Regions from separate parts of the Homo sapiens genome. Here region 1 is linked to region 2. The links are contacts of gene promoters, found by promoter capture Hi-C in blood cells and fetal thymus (Javierre and others, 2016). All regions are on one chromosome and are shown on one strand. The core of a region is centred on a gene start or on the middle of the fragment in contact, and the rest is flanking DNA. Distances in the headings are between cores, read along the strand shown.

The links. Contacts are between HindIII fragments. The CHiCAGO score rates a contact against its expected background, and 5 or more counts as called.
Region 1: a fragment that was not itself captured here is called in contact with the fragment with the promoter of NECTIN3-AS1 in region 2 in 1 of 17 cell types (fetal thymus); the score reaches 5.7 in fetal thymus.

The regions. Positions count from the first base shown.
Region 1 is chr3:111,687,240-111,692,574 of GRCh38, reverse strand. All of the region lies in intron 1 of PLCXD2 (phosphatidylinositol specific phospholipase C X domain containing 2), which reads right to left. Among named protein-coding and RNA genes, the nearest start is that of PLCXD2-AS1, 12 kb to the right of the region's middle. The HindIII fragment of the contact is 2,682 bases long and covers 1,790-4,471 here.
Region 2 is chr3:111,066,642-111,071,300 of GRCh38, reverse strand. NECTIN3-AS1 (NECTIN3 antisense RNA 1) reads left to right here and starts at 1,342. Exons shown (of 4, transcript NR_045114.1): 1 at 1,342-1,511; 2 at 1,830-2,037. It overlaps LOC151760 (putative uncharacterized protein LOC151760), which reads left to right. Exons shown (of 4, transcript XR_007096272.1): 2 at 1,830-2,037. The HindIII fragment of the contact is 1,000 bases long and covers 1,137-2,136 here.

The DNA of each region.
Region 1 (5,335 bases), core at 1,881-4,380, 620 kb before region 2:
AGGCTTTTAAAAAAATATTGCTGGACCCTTACTGCCAGGTGTTACCTTTGAGAGAGAGCTTCTATCTGTGGTCAAGCCATGTGGCTTAGGTTCATTTAAATTTCCCCATCTGAAGAAGAAATTCATTTTTCAGGAATCACATATTCAGTACATATCTCTTTAAAAATTCTCTCCCCCTTTCCTCTGCCCCTGGAACTCATGGAAACCTTTTCACCTAATAACTAAAAGCATCCTGGCCGGGCGGTGGCTCACGCCTGTAATCCCAGCACTTTGGGAGGCCGAGGCGGGCGGATCACAAGGTCAGGAGATCGAGACCATCCTGGCTAACACGGTGAAACCCCGTCTCTACAAAAATACAAAAAGAAATTAGCCGGGCGTGGTGGTGGGTGCCTGCAGTCCCAGCTACTCGGGCGGCTGAAGCTGGAGAACGGCATGAACCCGGGAGGCGGAGCTTGCAGTGAGCCGAGATCGCGCCACTGCACTCCAGCATGGGCGACAGAGCCAGACTCCGTCTCAAAAAAATAAAAAAGGAACCTGAAGACATTCAGTTTATCTCCCCAGTGTTTTTACCTCAGCTCTTTTAACATTAACTTTTTTATAACCCTGGTGGGGGCTCTTGCCTGAAAATAACTGAAACAACTTCAATCTATTGAGTGCTTATTATGTACCTAATGCCAGGCTGGGCATTTTACTTACATGATCTCATTTGACCTGTGCTACAATCCTGCAGGGCAGTGATTACCTGCATTTTACAGATGAGGAAACTGAGGCTCAGACTGGTTTTGCAACTAGTTCAGGGTTGCAAAGATTGCATGTGGCTGCCCGGGACATAGACCCAGGTCTGTCAGACCTCAGTGCACACAAAGATACTCTGGGGATGATAGTATTGGTTCTATGTCCTTATTGATTAAACAAGTCAAGTGCATTGTTCATTTACTTTCAATAACATGGTGATTGCAGAGTTTGTCTTTGGACCTAAATGCCTGGTCCCTGCCAGTGCAGGAAAATTGATGAAGAGATTAAAGCTATTTTAAATTTTGTAAAGACCTAAAGAATTTCTACATAGGGACACAGGAGGGCACTCTAACCTTCTCTCAGTTGAAGAAACAGTCTGTAATTCCACAGCTGAGCCTGAATCCCAGTGCTGGTTCTGCTGTGATTACTTCTGTGAACCTGGGCTTCCAAACTTGTACTTGGAATTCTGTTTCTTCATTTGCAAACTTAGGAAAGTGAGTGAAATGCGACTTAGGGTCTCTTCTATCTTAAGAATTGGATAATTCCACTTATTAACAGCTTACTAAAGGCATTTGTGACCATATTTATGAAGGACTATTCATCATTGCAAAGAAATAACATTTTTCTTTCACACTTACCATACTTAAACAGAAAATATGCCTGTAAATTTAACTCATCATATTTGCAAAAAGCAAATCATTCCAAGCCTAAAGTGGTATTTATTGCTTTTTGGCTGAGAATTTCGTCAAATTGCTGGAGACCTTCTTTCTGCTCACACAGATTCCTAGGACCCATATTCCTGTTGGGTCTTAGGTGTGTCCTACAGTGATTAAATGCATTGGCTAATAGTTCACTTATTGTTTAGCATTTATGTGACAGTGCCCTTCACTTTAAAGGCTGTTGTTTCATTATTTTGTGGGTCATTTTAATGGAATTTATCATTGGGACTTTGAAAAAACATATTTAAAGTTACCTAGTTTGGCTGGAATTTTTCACAGGGCAGAGTTATTTTAAGATTCATTTGATAAATTGGAGAATGAGATACAGAGAAGCTTCTTAGCTAGTTCCCCTCCAGGATAAGAAGAGGTTTTTTTCTCTTTCCTGTAAATAAAGGCCTAAGCTAGGTGTTCTGACAGAGGAAAGGGAAAAGGGAGGAGAGAAAATCCAGTAAGTAGCAGTTTAAATTACATGAAATGGTGGGCTTAAAGGGAATTTGTACATTACACCCAACGGGGAAAGTGAATGAAAACACACCCCACCCTTGAAGACCAGTGTTCTGAGAGCTTACACACCTGCTAAAGCCTCATGCTGGTCTTTCTGTGTAGAGGCAGAATAGAGGCCAGATAGATTTTTTTCTGTGCCGGAGCCTTGCTGGGTGATTACTACATAGACCACTTAAACCACTGGGCTGCTTTTGTTCTGAGTCAATAAAAAGCCTCCTAGATGTCTGGTCTTGAAAAAAAAAATGTAACTTGTTCAGCCAGAACAGGTCAGCATGTAGTCCTTCAAACATCACCATCCTCATGGGTGCTCATGCATTAGAGTCCCGACATGGGAGCAAATGGCCTCAGATGAAAAGAAAATTACCCTTTATTACAACCAACAAAAGAAACTAAAGTTACAACCCAACACTGGGTCAATCTCCAACTCTATCAATGACTTTTATTCAAATGCAATTAAATGAATTTGGCATGACCTAATTTTTACAATTCTAGTATTGTTATCAGGATTTTGGGGGGCCATCTGCTTAACCTCTCTGTGACTGAATTTCTTCATCTGTAAAATGGGGATAGTAGGAGTATCTACATCATTAATTTATTATAATAATTAATTGGCTTTATATAAATCAAACAGCAATATCGGTCCCCTAGGAAGTGCTATATAAATATTAAATGAGCAAGCTATCTTTCTTCTGCTTCTTTTATTATTATTATACTTGTTCTTACTCTTAAAGCCTTGAGGCATCTTGAGAAGACTGCAATGCAGTTATAAGATTTTGTCTTACCTTAGGCGTTACTACTTGCTTCCTGCCTGTCCTAGTTTCTCCTTAACTAGAAATATAGATTTTTAAATATCTGTTTTTTATGCTTAAATTCTTTGTAGATATATTTCAAGATTCCATCTTTCCCCTCCTTCTTCTTTCCCTCCACTTTTATCATAAGGTGCTTATTCTGAACAAGACAGCAAGTATACAGAAATGACAAAACAGTTGTATACAGCAGAGAGAAACAGTCCCAATGGGGTATATCATGTCCTATAATGGAAATGTGCACAGAGGTCATACCTGAACTGAACTGTAATTGGCGAGGCAAAGCGAAGGTGGGTTATTGGAAGGGAGGGTGTTCAAAGACTGGAATTATAACAGGGATAGAACACTTTCTTTCACAGTTTTCTTCAAGCCCAAAATTGTCACTGGCTCCCTATGGTCTACAACACAAAGCATAAAGTGCTTAGCACAGTGCTGAAAATCTCTCTCCAACTGGCTTGTCTGTCTTTCCGTAACTTTCCCATTTCCTTCTCCTGTCACTTCTACAGGTGACCATGGCAGCCCTTCTCTGTTTCCTGAAGGTGCCCTTGTTTTCTCATCTCTAATTTTGGGCATTTGCTTCCCTGTCTCTGGAATGTCCTTCCCTCTTCATGTTGAAATCCTCCCTGTCTCTCACAGTCCAGCTCACAGGTGCTCTTCTCCTGAAGCAGTTCCTTACCCACCAACTAGAAGTAACCTTTCCCTTTCCAGGTCCCAGCACAGTTTGCTTGTTTCTTTATCATGGTACTCACCTCATTCTGCTTTTATTTACTTTATTTGAACTCTTGTATATCTCTTATAAGATCTACAAACTACATCTTGTTCATTTTTTAAAAATGTCCCACAGTAGCTATTATGATATTAGGTATATATTAAGTAATCAAAAGGATGTTTAATAATAATAGCTATATATATATATAACATATTTATTTCATAATTGGCAATATTCTAATCACATTGTATATCTTATTTAATTCTTTTTTTAAAGTTAATTTACATTTATCTTGTTTAATTCTTTTTTGAAATTTAATTCTTAAGTAACTTTGTTGTGTAGTAAAAAATTTAAACCTTACCCAAAAGGAGGTATGGTCTTCGCCCTCAGTCCTTGGGAGGCAATTGCTTAAGCCCTTGGAATGTCCTGCCTGATCAAAGTATCTTTATTTACCTGACAGCTTTGGGCCATAAGGGAAAGTATAAGGATGTGATTTATGGTGCAGGATTTGAGTCACATGGGCATGGGCTTAACCTCTGAAGGGGCTGGATACTTAGGTCAGCCATGTGGAAGACCAGAAAAGATTCTGGACACCAAAGCTCAGGTGAGCTTCCCTGGTTAGCAGTACTTTGTGTGGTACTGTCACACATCAATACGAGGAAAGAAACACTGTCCATGAGAAGAGGACAACTGGAAGCTCCACATTTGGAAATTTCCTGAACTTTGCTCCATGCACCTCTTCCTTTAGCTGATTTTGATCTGCAGCCTTTCAGAGCAATAAACAGTAACTATGAGTATAACAACTTTCAATGAGTTCTGTCAATCTTCCTAGCAAATTATCAAACAAGGGTGATCTTAAGGCTCCCAAACCTGTAACTGGTATCAGAGTGAGGGTAGTCTTCCAGCTTGTGCTTCCTCTAACTTTGCACTTTTGAAGTGGATATTATAATTATCTCAATTTTACAGATGAAAAAACTAACAGACAGAGGGGTAAAGCTTTTTACTCAAGGTCATGCAACTATTAATAGTAGCGAGGATTTGAGCCTACAACCTACACTCTGAACTACTTTTTCATAGTGCCTCCTGTGTGAATAACAAAGAGAGAGAGAGGATAAAAGATATAAGAAAAGGCTGGGCACAGTGGCTCATGCCTGTAATCCCAGCACTTTGGGAGGTCATTGCGAGAGGATCGCTTGAGCTCAGGAGTTTGAGACCAGCCTGACCTGGTCTCTACTAGAAATAAAAAAAAATTAGCCAGGTGTGATGGCATGTGCCTGTAGTCTCATCTACTCAGGAGGCTGAGATGGAGAACTGCTTGAGCCAGGAGGTTGAGGCTTCAGTGAGCCATGGTCACGTCACTGTACTCCAGCTTGGGTGACAGAGCAAGACCCTGTCTCAAAAACAAAAAAAAAAAAAAGAAAGAAAGAAAGAAAAAACCCATAAAGAACAGAGGGATGAACATGTGTTCTTAAATGCTGAAGATATTTAGGGTGGCTTTCATAGAAAAACATCTTGTATTCCAATTCAGGTATTTAATCCATACAAATATTACAATAAATTTAATATGAACAGATAATAATTGTGCATGTTAAAATATTTGAGGCCTGAGTTAAGAATATATTAATTTACAAAGTTATTAATACATATAAGTACGCCTTATGGTCATTGAATATAGCAAAAGACTTGTCTAAGAAAACAAAAAACCCTTAGAGTCCTTGGGGACAATCTTATTGTCCCTTGCCTTTCCATTTTAATTACCATCATTAGTCTGTGAGCTCACCTGACTCTACCAAGGAGACTGACCTGTTCTTTCCTCTGTGATTCCATGGCAGTGAGTTGATATTTGATGAACTTAGGACATT
Region 2 (4,659 bases), core at 93-2,592:
GGGGTGGGGTGGGGAGGGGAAGGCAGGAGGGGGCTGCCCTTCCGTTGCCCATGCTAAAGGTTCCTGTGTAGGAAGCTGGACGCAGCCTGCTGGACTAGTAATCTTCCTCCTCGCTGGGGCGCGGGGCACTGAAGGGAGGGAGAGACTTTCTCCTCCTTCCTGTTCCCCGGGACAGCTGTGCTCTCCGAATCCTTCCCTTCTTCCCAGCCCACTTATTCCCCGCTCGCCAAGGCACGTTTGCACAGGCATTTTTCCTGCTCTTTTTTCTGGGAGGGCAGCTTGGTAGAATGGTCGGCGGAGCTGGGCGAGGAGAGGGGTCTTCAGAAGGTTTGCTTTCTTGCTCTTGCTTCTCACTGGCCGCTGGGCTGTCCACTTTCCGCGCCGGGCGACTGGCAACAGGAGGCCATGGATTTCCCCCAACGAGTGCGTTGGTGTTTTTCTTTGGTTTTGTTTCCTTTGCATGTTCGTATGTGTAGTTTTATTTTCTTGCCTGTTTTCGTTTGATGGCAGAGAGGCGACCTCGGGAAGTATTAAACATTTGCCCGTATAAGAAGAGCGTCTGTGGTCCACCATGACCCTCGCTCATCCCAGGTGGCTCTCCGCCCTGCCCTCTCCATCCTCCCGCCTCGCACAGTACCGGCAGCTTGACCTTGGAGCCACTGCCACATTGGTTCCGCGGGGGGAGTAGGAGGGTGGACAATTTGGACTGTCCAGCGTAGGGGGTGAATTGAAGGCAGAGGACACCAGTCCTCAGGCCTGACACTATTAATTTTATGTAGGTCCTGTCATCTCCACGAGATAGCCATAAATGTGTTCCAGTAACAGGAAAGCTGAACAAGGATCAGCCGCCCAGAAGTTAGCCTGTCGCAGCTAAACTAATGCATGCTTGCGGCCAAGACCACGCTGTCCTCGGCTTTCAGTCAATAGGGTCTTCCCACCTTCCGCCCGCTGGATTACAAGGCTTTACTAACCTCCAAGGCTACAAGCCATTCTACACCCTGCCCACCTCTTTTTTCTTTCTTAACTTCTGCCTCCCTTCCAGTCTCCCAGCGCTCGGTCTAGTGCCTTTTTCCCTCCAGCCCTTTCCTCTTCCCTCCCTCCCTGTGCCTGTCTGCCTCTGTCGTCCCCTGTAAGCTTGTCTCCTGCAGCCAAGGCTTTCTATCACCTATTCTCAAGATGCACTTATGAATAAACCTTGTCCTGCATCGCTCCGGGAGATCCCCTGATGATGATCATAATTGACAAAATGTAGCTATTGTGACATTCCTCAGCTGTGCTGACACCACCGTTTCCCTTGAGAAAATTTCTTTTTCTATATTCGCATTCCCTAAACCTAATTTCACTGCTAAATTTAGACAGCTCACTGCGCAGCCACTAGCTAATTATCTGTTTAGATAGCACTTTAACACGTTGTTGAGACTCAGTTAAATGTTAAACAACCAAAATTTTAATATCACTAGCCAATTTCATTCTTCCAGGTTTTCCCTGATGGCTCCACATCTCCAAGAAAAGTAATTTAGCCAACATTTCAAAAAATACCAAAGGCTTAACTTGGGTAGGGGCCATCGGGCAATTGCTACAGAGACCATAAGGAATTAGCAGGTTAAGTTCGTCTCAAAAAGATGACATGGAGCTTTAACAAATATATTTCCTCCATACTTACAGAAATTGAATAGTGGTCTGCTATGATATTCTCTGACCTAAAGTGAAGAGAGAGCATGGAAGAGCATTATTTATAGATGTTATATAAGCATTAAAAGAGCACCATGCTGGTGTTTTATGTGCATATATGTATTATATTCTAATAATAATAATTTGTGTTTATACAGCATCTTCAACTAAAGATGTCAAAGCACAAGCTCACTTCCCACGGAAGGTAGCAATTACTATTATCTACTTGACAGCTACAAGAACCTAGGCACAGAGGTTAAGTGCTCTGCAAATACTACCAGCCAGTGGTGGTTTTCCTGCCAGAACCAAGTTCTTGCCTTCCAGTGGACACCATTGATCTCTCAAGATGATTCTTTAAGTTAAAAAGTAAGATAACTCAAATTTCTACTTTCTATAATAAAAGTGCCCAATCTTAAATTACATTCTCCTCAGATGAGTGAATTTTAGACATACTCACCCCAAGCTTTCCTGTTGGAAATTTTTACTGGCCACAGAAAAAGATTTTACATTACATATACAACTCATGTTTTTCAAGGGCAGAAATACTATTAATTTTTTTAAAACCTTTAGCATGAGAGTATTAGTGCGTTCTATGCCATTTTTAGTCTTCTAACTTTATACATAAGTTCACATTTATTGTTTGAATAACAAACTGTTTAAGGAATACTTAATTATAGCTAACTTATTAATATTTCTGACACCATTGAATAACAAAGTATACATGCATTTTTTCAGAAAAAAATTATCTGAACAGAAAGCAATGTAATCCTAATGCCAACAATAGTTTCATTGTTTTGGGTTAAGAGTACTGATGGTGTCCATCCTACTTTCGGCTCAAAGATTGTTTGCCAATTATCAAGGTTCATTAACTCTTAACTAAAAAACAAAGGTTGACATCTTAACAAAGAAGTAATTATGTACAGTGCTGGGCATTTTACATTTACTCAAATAATCCAAGTGAAAAGTTTGAGACTATTATTAGAATTTCATAGCTGACTCTGAAACAAAGGAGGTATTTTACAGGAGAGGTAAGACATTATATACTTCAGCTAATTCTTCTTAACATCAGCAAATTCTATAACCTGCTGTGTGAGGACGCATAGCTTTTCCTTTAGTAAAAGAGATGAATGATATTTTGTAGAATATTTGAACTTTGTACTATATTTGATAATAAGCTTATGTTATCCAGTTAGGATCACAGTTTTTGTAAAGAGAATTATGCAAATAATAAAAAACAAACTGCAAAATCGCAGAAAAGTCCATCCACTTGCAAAACGTTCACCAACCTTACTCTTATTAAATGCAAGTCTTTCTTACTGAACAGATCTTCCCTGTATGCTCATATGACTTTCTCCCTCCTATTTCCTTTGAATCTTTGATAAAATTTAACTTTATCATTGAGGCTCTCCAGGACCACATCATATGAAAGAGCTTCCCCCACCCTAATCCCTATGCCCTTAACTTGCTTTATTTTCTCCATTGCCCTTACCATCTGACATGTCTCTAATTTACTGTCTGTTCCCTTTCACTAGAATGAACAGTCCACAAGGGCAAGCAAGTATCTATATTTTCACTGTTAAAACTCAAGTAGGCCAGGCACAGTGCCTCCTGCCTGAAATCCCACCACTTTGGGAGGCCAAGGCTGGCAGATTGCTTGGGTCCAGGAGTTCAAGACGAGCCTGGCAACATGGCTGTGTTAGTCTGTTCTCATGCTGCTAATAACGACATACTTGAGATTGTGTAATTTATAAAGGAAAGAGGTTTAATTGACTCACAGTTCCACATGGCTTGGGAGGCCTTAATCATGGAAGAAGGCAAGGAGGAGCAAAGTGGTGGCAGGCAAGAGAACATGTCCAGGAAAACTCCCCTTTATAAAACCATCAGATCTCATGAGACTTATTCACTATCAGGAGAACAGCACAGGAAAGACCTGCCCCCATGATTCGATCACCTTCCACTAGGTCCCTTCCACAACACGTGGGAATTGTGGGAGCTACAATTAAAGATGAGATTTGGGTGGGTACACAGCCAAACCATATCAATAGCAAAACCTCCTTTCTCCTATAAATACAAAAAAAAAAAAATTAGCCGGGTGTAGTGATGTGCTCTTGTAGTCCCAGCTACTTTGAAGGCTGAGGTACGAGAATCAGCTGAGCCCAGGAGGTCGAGGCTGCAGTGAGCCAAGATTGCATCCCTGTACTCTAGCCTAGGCAGCTGGAGAAAGACCCTGTCCCCCAAAAAAAACCAAAACCAGAACAAAACAAAACAAAAACCCCAAGTACCTAGAATAATGTCTGCCATATAGATTCCAAACTGGATGATTAAATGATTATTATGACATAGCATACTCAAGTGCATGTCTCATTCAGTAGAGGTTTATACTTCTTTAAGGTCTTGAACAATAGGATTGATCATGTATAGTTTTTTTAAGCTGGAAGGTGGTTACTCTGACCATTGCTTAACACTCTTGATATAATTGTTATTAGTGCTGTTTATTAAACTATTATCTCTCCACTCTGTATTCATAGTTCTGCCCTGGTTTTGTAAGGCTGGTGCTAGGACTCTGCAAACTGTGTATCTCCTTTACCGACTGGCTTCCTGACGGGTTCTATCAATAGAGGTCACTGGAGGAAATGTGGACCCCTGGAGTAAGAGAAAAGGGACTTGTTCCTTTCCATTTGCTTCTTGCTATCAGCATCACCTCAGTGGTAATAACCTGTCATCCTGTCTTTAGCAGCTGATTCCAGCCTCCCACTTCTTTTACACTCTAAGTCCCAGAGTCCTCATGACTCCTCAAAAGTACCAGCACCAACTAGGCTGTTTCTACTTCTCAGAGGTCCAAGCCCCAGCTAAGGAGGATGGCTCCTCTAAACTTCTGAGTTCTAATAACACAAACCTTCCCCTTTGTCCTTCTAGTTCTAAGGGTAGTAACAGCTTCCCACAGCTTATATCTCTAGGTCACCACAGTGCTTCCCTTTTTGATCTAGA